Linked DNA regions of Homo sapiens: region 1 is linked to region 2. The links are contacts of gene promoters, found by promoter capture Hi-C in human tissues and cell types (Jung and others, 2019). All regions are on one chromosome and are shown on one strand. The core of a region is centred on a gene start or on the middle of the fragment in contact, and the rest is flanking DNA. Distances in the headings are between cores, read along the strand shown.

What was found. The method cuts DNA at HindIII sites, captures the fragments that hold promoters and counts their contacts. A contact is called where the count stands out against the background at its distance.
Region 1: a fragment that was not itself captured here is called in contact with the fragment with the promoter of HAX1 in region 2 in 1 of the 25 tissues and cell types used here (liver).

The regions. Positions count from the first base shown.
Region 1 is chr1:153,872,686-153,876,547 of GRCh38, forward strand. The region is part of intron 1 of GATAD2B (GATA zinc finger domain containing 2B); the gene reads right to left. Among named protein-coding and RNA genes, the nearest start is that of GATAD2B, 48 kb to the right of the region's middle. The HindIII fragment of the contact is 8,682 bases long and covers 1-3,862 here.
Region 2 is chr1:154,269,775-154,274,079 of GRCh38, forward strand. It overlaps HAX1 (HCLS1 associated protein X-1), which reads left to right and starts at 2,855. Exons shown (of 7, transcript NM_006118.4): 1 at 2,855-3,002; 2 at 3,562-3,824; 3 at 4,000-4,187. The coding sequence starts at 2,950. UBAP2L (ubiquitin associated protein 2 like) reads left to right here. Exons shown (of 27, transcript NM_014847.4): 27 at 426-1,073. The coding sequence ends at 521. RefSeq lists a silencer at 2,471-2,611 and an enhancer at 2,749-2,918. The HindIII fragment of the contact is 12,660 bases long and covers 1-4,305 here.

The sequences.
Region 1 (3,862 bases), core at 1,329-3,828, 400 kb before region 2:
CAAGAAAGCATCTGCCAAATACCCAAGTCTAAATAACGTACTTTGTTGGTTATTCTTTCATCAAGTAAAAATGCTGTTCTATGAAGAAGACAACTAGTTAGCTGGAAACCCAAATAACTGTAAAAGTACTTTTCCTTAGACAACCACAGTACTTCAATATATAACAGAAGTGTTTTTTGAGTACTTCCCATTTTATCACACAAAATATTCAAAAGCCAAGTACTAAAAGGTCAAGATTAAATAAAATTAATTTTTACTGCTTCATCAAGAACATTCTTAAATGAAACTTTTTTTTTTTTACTGCAAATTTAAACTGCATGACAATAAAGAACACAATGCCTGCTACTAGTTTGGTGCTATTGCTCAGGGTTACCCTAACGTTTTAATCAGCATTGCTTTTGGATATCACTGCAAATGTTAACACAGGGAAGAAGGCAAATGATGACTTAGTATTATTATGAAACTATTCTGATCTCACAGACTCCATGAAAGGAGTCTATTCTCTAGGATTCCACAGACTACACTTTGAAAACTGCTAGGCTACTCTAACACACTTGTTTAATAGGTAACCTACCAATTCATATTTATTTCCAAGTTTAATGCAAACTACTTGACAGCAAATCTCTCTTCTTTGTACTTCGCTTTAATACCCCGCAACGATTTGAATGTGTCCCCCAGAAGTTCATCTGTTGGATACTTGGTGCCCAATGCAGGCGTGTTAAGAGGCGAGACCTTTAGGAAGTGCTTGAGCCATTCTCAGATTAATGGGTTATTCAGAGAAGGGGCTAGTTAGCACAAGAGTGGGTCTGTAATAAAAGCCAATGTGGCTGTCTCTCGTTAGTCCCCTCACCATGTGATGCCCTGTGCCACTCTGGAACTCTGCAAGGTCCCCACCAGCAAGAAGGCCCTCAGCAGATATGGCCCCTTGACCCTGGACTTTCCAGCCTCCAGAGCCGTGAGAAATAAATTTCTTGGGGCTGGTCATGGTGGCTCATGCCTGTAATCCCAGCACTTTTGAGAGGCCAAGGTGGATATATTGCTTGAGTACAGGAGCTCCACTCCAGCCTAGGCAACATAGTGAGACCCCATCTCTACAAAACATTTTTAAAGCAATTTAGCTGGGTGCAAAGGCACATGCCTGTAGTCCTAGCTACTTGAGAGGCTGAGGCAGGAGGACTGCTTGAGCCTAGGAGTTCAAGGCTACAATAAGCTATGACTGCACAACTGCACTCCAGCCTGGGTGACAGAGAATAAATAAAAAGGAAAGAGGAAAGAAAGAAAGGTAGGGAGGGGACCGGGTGCGGTGGCTCATGCCTATAATCTCAGCACTTTGGGAGGCCGAGGAGGGTGGATCATGAGGTCAAGAGATCGTCTGAGACCATCCTGGCCAACATGGTGAAATCCCATCTCTACTAAAAATACAAAAATTAGCTGGGTGTGGTGGCGTGTGCCTGTAGTCCCAGCTACTTGGGAGGCTGAGGCAGGAGAATCGCTTGAACCCAGGAGGCAGAGGTTGCAATGAGCTGAGATAGTGCCACTGCACTCCAGCCTGGGAGACAGAGCAACACTCCGTCTCAAAAGAAAAAAAAAAGAGAGAGGGAAAGAAATTTATTTATTTTCTTTATAAATTACCCAGTCTCAGGTTATAGCAACAGAAAATGGACTAAGACAACACACTACTATGAAGTGCCCCTAAGAGATTAAAAATAAGTGCTGTTACTGCCTAACCAACTTCAAACGGTACTTTCCTTCACCTAATGCTTATTAGCCATGTCAATAGACCCTCCCTTCTTCAAAATCCTATTCCTAAAAATCTGAAATGATTAATTCCTTCTAGTCCATGTAAGTCTAGTCTATTTTTAAATTTTTATTTATCTATTTTTGGGGTTTTTTTGTTGTTTTTGTTTTTGAGACGGAGTTTCCCTCTGTCACCCAGGCTGGAGTGCAGTGGCGCGATCTCGGCTTACTGCAACCTCCACCTCCCAGGTTCAAGCAATTCTCCTGTCTCAGTCTCCCAAGTAGCTGGGACTACAGGTGCATGCCATCATGCCCAGCTAATTTTTGTATTTTTAGTAGAGACAGGGTTTCATCATATTGCTCAGACTGGTCTTGAACTCCAGACATCAGGTGATCCACTCGCCTTGGCCCCCCAAAGTGCTGAGATTACAGGTGTGAGCCACCACATCCAGCCTATTTATTTATTTTTGAAACAGGGTCTTGTTCTGTCACCCAGGCTGGAGCACAGTGGCTCCATCACAGCTCATGGTTCACTGCAGCCTCAAACTCCCAGGCTCAATCAATCTTCCCACCTCAGCCTCCCAACTAACTGGGACTACAGGGACATGCCACCATGCCCAGCATTTTTTCTTGTAAGCAAAGATGGGGTCTTGTTGTGTTGACCAGGCTGGTCTCAAGCTCCTGGGCTCAAGTGATCCTCTTGCCTAGGCCTCCCAAAGTGCTGGAATTACAGGTGTAAGCCACCACGCCCAGCCAAATTTAGTCTCATTATTTCTCTTCTGATTTCTAGAACTTGCTTCATAGGTCACTTTTCTAGGAAAAAAAGACTCTTGATTAGACCAGGGGCATCCAACCTTTTGGCTTCCCTGGGCCACAATGGAAGAACTGTCTTGGGCCACACATAAAATACACTAACACTAAAGATAGCTGATGAGCTGGAAGAAAAAAAAAATCTCATGTTTTAAGAAAGTTTCTGAATTTGTATTGAGCTGCATTCAAAGCTGTCCTGGGCCGCATGCAGCCCAAGAGTTGCAGGTTAGACAAGCTTGATCTATACCATGCGGTTCTTACAAACTTCTTCTGTAAAGGACCAGATAATAACATTTTAGACTTTGTGGGGCAAGTACTAAACTCTGCTTTTGTAAGCAAGTGGGTGTGGCTGTGTTTCAACAAAATTTCATTTACCAAAACAAGCAGCAGCTATAGTTTGCTGACTCCTGATCTTGATACAGGTCAATAGACCTACCACGAGTTTGGAGGGAAAAAAAAAAAAAAAAAAAAAAGGTAGCCACAAGCTGGCTAAAATAAACTAGTAAGAACAATGAAAATAGTATAAACAAACCCAACAGACAGGAATATCTATCTTGCTAACATTCACTGAGCTCTTACTATGTGCTAGGCATTGCGCTAAAGTGCTTCACAATGCATTATCTCATTTAGAACCTCTGGAGATATAATTATCCTCCTGTTAGAGAGAAAAGAAAAACAGATAAACTGAGTAACTTCATACGATTTCACAGTCCAGGCCAGGCACAGTGGCTCATGCCTGTAATCCCAGCACTTTGAGAGGCCAAAGCAGGCGGATCATGAGGTCAGGAGTTCCAGATCAGCGTGGCCAATATGGTGAAACCCCGCCTCTACTAAAAAATACAAAAATTAGCTGGGTGTGGTGGCGCATGCCTGTAGTCCCAGCTACTCAGTAGGCTGAGGCAGGAGAATCGCTTGAACCCGGGAGGCGGAGACTGCAGTGAGCTGAGATCGCGCCACTACACTCCAGCCTGGGCAACACAGTGAGACTTCGTCTCAAAAAAAAAAAAAAAAAAAAAAAAAAAAAAAAAGATTTCACAGTCCTTAAATGGCTGGGCGTGGTTAAAACACAGGACTGTCTTACCTGAGTCAATGTCCTTAACCATCGTACTATGCTATCTATATTGTCATTTTTGGTTTCCGATCCAACCAGACTGGTAAGAGAGTAATTCTTATGAAAGACTATTACTGTTTACATGCTCTTACAGTGTCTTTTCTGTATCACTGAGTTTACTACACAAACCTTTGGCTCACATTCTTGAAAGAAAGAGCCTAGATGACCTTGCAGTGGGTAACATACTGCTCAGTAATATGCACC
Region 2 (4,305 bases), core at 1,605-4,104:
AGCTCCATTATAGGTGGCTGGAGCTAGAATAAGGGCTTCCTTCCTCAAAGACAGCTTTCCAAATTGAGGCATTAATGGGGATCAATGGAAATGAAATTGCCTTGTGATCACCCATCTCCAAGAGCAGGGGAGAGAGGGGGTAGTGTGAGAATGTAGAATTGAAAATGAGTAGAACTCACTCACTACCTTGTCTCTAAAGGTATCTTGCCCTCTTCATCTTTTCCCTATTTAAAAGTCAAAAATGCCTTCCTGCTTGTAAGAAAGGGGCTTTAGCAGCTATGCAGACCAAATTTTCTATGGTTCTAATAGTAGTGAGGGGAATGGGAGAGCAAGACAGTTTGCACATCTCCACCTGAAGATGTTACAAATTTGTACCACTAACTAGACACCTTTTTCCTCCTCATGATCCTCCCATTCCCCTGCAGACGGGCAGCGGGCAACGTAGCCAGACCAGCTCCATCCCGCAGAAGCCCCAGACCAACAAGTCTGCCTACAACAGCTACAGCTGGGGGGCCAACTGAGGCCCTGACCCTCTTCTCCCGGTCCCATCTTCTGAGAGGGCTTCTCAGCCTGGAAACTATGGAAACAGCATCAAAGAGAAAGGAATGTGGGGGGTTTCCGCTGCCCCCCACCCCCAGCGGCCCACCCCATGCCTCAGCTTCATGTCTGTCCCATTCCTATACCATCCCCACCCTGTTGTATGTATTATAGGATTTGTATTTTCTCCTTTTTTTTCCCCCTTCCATTCCTTCTCCCCTCTTGCATTCAAGATTATGAAACTTTGCTATGGGCCCTGCACTTCCTTTGCTTCCTCCTGTTCACCCTGGTGGTGTACGGATGAGGCGGGGAGGTGGGACCCCCAAACATATATCAGCCCAACAGCCCTAAGTCTCCTTCTTTATTATTAGGAAAACAACAACAACAACAAACAAAAAAATGGCGTCATGAATATGAACAGCATTGTCAGATGAATTAGTTGAAGTGGTTTTTTTTTTGTTTTTTTTTTTTTTTTGTACTGTGTCCTCAAATTTAATGGATTAATGTGTCTTGTATATATAAAAAGAAAACCTCTACCTTCAGCCTCTGCCTATTCTTGCTCCGTCTAGGACATCCTCAATTTCGTCGATGACCAGCTTGGTGAATAAGTATTACTGTACCAACTGGGCCTCCTCTAGCAGGCCCCTGAAGGCAGTGGAATAAAATGAAATCTTCGCCCTTTAAGAACTCCTGACCTTAATGTGGTAGTAGTATCTTGTCCTTGAGGGGATTTCCTTCCCCTCACCCCTAAGACTTTCACAACCTGGTGACTGGAAAGAACCACCACAAATCTTCATTTCCTCCAGAAACTGCTACATCTACAGCCGATTTCAGGCAGTAAAGGGAGAGGGATAGAGGAGATTGGGTGGAAAATGGAGAGGATCAAGAAGGAGCTGAGACCATTTCAAAGAAAAAAAATGCTTTATAGAGTTTTAAGTATGACTTAGATGGGTCCAGGCAAATAAACTAAAAAGAAGTGAAGGCAACATGTATCGTCTGGCAGAACTAAATCTTGGAGTGGGGTGAGGGATGAAAGACTACATATTGGGTACAGTGTACACTGCTCGGGTGATGGGTGCGCTAAAGTCGCAGAAATCACTAAAGAACTCATCCATGTAACCAAACACCACCTGTACCCCAAAAACGAAATAAAAAAACAAAACCTTGGGGCCCATTCCCCCTAGGAATGGACTACTGTAGTAGTGGCTTCTTGGATGCTTCTCTGTGACATAGCTATACCCAATTCTTTGAAAAAGAATCTAGAGCAAGGTCTGGCTTGGGGATGGGGTACAGGGAGAGACAGGTCTCGGAGAGGTTTTGAACAAAACACTTTTAAAAAGGAATGAGGACAGGCGCTTTGGGAGGCTGGGTTGGGCGGATCACCTTAGGTCAGGAGTTCGAGACCAGCCTGGTCAACATGGTGAAACCCCGTTTCTACAAAAAATACAAAAGTAGCCGGGCGTGGAGGCGCATGACTGTAATCCCAGCTACTCGGGAGGCTGAGACAGGAGAGAACCTGGGAGGCGAAGGTTGCAGTGAGCCGACATGGTGCCACTGCACTCCAGCCTGGGAAACATGAGAGAAAACTCTGTCTCAAAAAAAAAAAAAAAAAAAAAAAAAAAAAGATACCAAAGGGATATTTCTTTATAACCCCCAATTTGTTCCTTCTCAGGACTCAACTAGCTTCCCTTCCCTTGCTTTCTTAAAAATCCTTTGTCTTGCTGGTTGCAGAGCCTGCTTAGAAAAAAGAATTCTATATAGTTATAACAAACTCCCTAGTAGCTAGAGAGGTGGAGGAAGTTAAGTCCATGCGTCTCTTATGTCTTGATCTCTTCTCTGGGAAATTCAATACTAGAAGGAGCTTGGAAAAGCATTTTGTTCATCCCTCTAACAGCAGACATCGCCCAGGTCAGTCAAAAAGAACGCCCGAGTAAGGAGCGAGGTGGCTTCTGCTGTGAGGCTGGCCAGCCCCGCGGGTGGGGTGGTTGAGGGACGCCCTCAAGCCGGTCCATTTGTGCGGCTGGGCTGCCCTCTGGCGGCTTTATCCGGGTGCCATCCAGAGTCAAACCCTCGAAATCGCTTTTCGTACTGAGTTGGTCTGCAGAAAGAAGAACAGATTTAGGAGGAAGGCGGTCATAGGAAACTGAAAGTGCGTCACGCCCACTCCCGTCACGGAAACTGGTCTCTGAAAGGTGGGGTAAAGATAAAGCCTTTCAAATTTGAGGAAGACCTTCGGTCCCGCCTCCATTTCACGTCCGGCTTACCGTCGTTTACGACAGTGTCAGGATCGCGGGCTTGCTTTCCGGTAGCGTGGGCTGACGCCTCGCTCAATTTCTCACAGGGCTGCGCAGGTTTCCCCCGTCTGCGAATGGACCACTGGAGGGGTTCAAAGGTTCGCGTCCCAGTACGGGAATGAGCCTCTTTGATCTCTTCCGGGGCTTTTTCGGCTTTCCTGGACCTCGGAGGTGAGAGTAGGTCCGGCTCGGACAAGGGTGGGGGTCGTCTGAGGGGAGCTTGACCCCTACGTCTTATTTTTGGAAAAACATCCTCTGTCCCACTCCTTCAACTCCTGCAGAGAGGACAGAAGTCGCAACATTGAACACTCACCCCGCCACAGTAACCAAGGCGGTCATTAAGAGGAGAAACAGCAAACTAAGCCTTTCTCCAACCTGGGGTGATGCAACAGGGACCCGGGCGGGGAAGACCGTGAGGGTCTGGGGAATAAGACAGTGAGCAAGTGAGCAGGACCTTGGGAGAGAGAGGAGGGACTGGGGCACACTGAAGAAAAACTGGGGGAAGGTGTATGAAGGGAGCTGCGAGCTGAGGTCTGACTTTGATTAAAAAAAAAAAAAAAAAAAAAGAACTGTCAGCCATTGTATTAATGTTTTGATGTGGCAGCCAGTCCTCCGACCCTCTCCCTAGCTTCCCAGACCCCTTGCTCTTGTCCCACTTTGCCACCCATGAGTTGATTTAATGGCTTAAATAGTGCTGAAATATTGGTGGCCAATCTGCCTCCACTCTCAGCCACAGAGATCCCTTTTTTGGAGGGATGACTCGAGATGAAGATGATGATGAGGAAGAAGAAGAAGAAGGGGGCTCATGGGGCCGTGGGAACCCAAGGTTCCATAGTCCTCAGCACCCCCCTGAGGAATTTGGCTTCGGCTTCAGCTTCAGCCCAGGAGGAGGGATACGTTTCCACGATAACTTCGGCTTTGATGACCTAGTACGAGATTTCAATAGCATCTTCAGCGATATGGGGGCCTGGACCTTGCCTTCCCATCCTCCTGGTGTGTGGCTTTCCCTAAGGGGCAACCTGTGGTTTCTGGTGGGTTGGTGGGTGAAATAAAGAGCCTGCAGGGAGTAGCTGGGGGATGGGAAGTGTGAGAAGACTGATGATTTCAGAGAGATTAATAGAGCCCAAGTCCTTTCCCATCCCAGCAAACACCTGCCACCTTTCTGCAGAACTTCCAGGTCCTGAGTCAGAGACACCTGGTGAGAGACTACGGGAGGGACAGACACTTCGGGACTCAATGCTTAAGTATCCAGATAGTCACCAGCCCAGGATCTTTGGGGGGGTCTTGGAGAGTGATGCAAGAAGTGAATCCCCCCAACCAGCACCAGACTGGGGCTCCCAGAGGCCATTTCATAGGGTGAGTATCCCATCTGGTCCTGAAGTGAGAGCTTGTGAGAGACCACTAATAAAGTGCAAAGACTGGCTAGGTGCGGTGGCTCACGCCTGTAATCCCAGCACTTTGGGAGGCCGAGGTG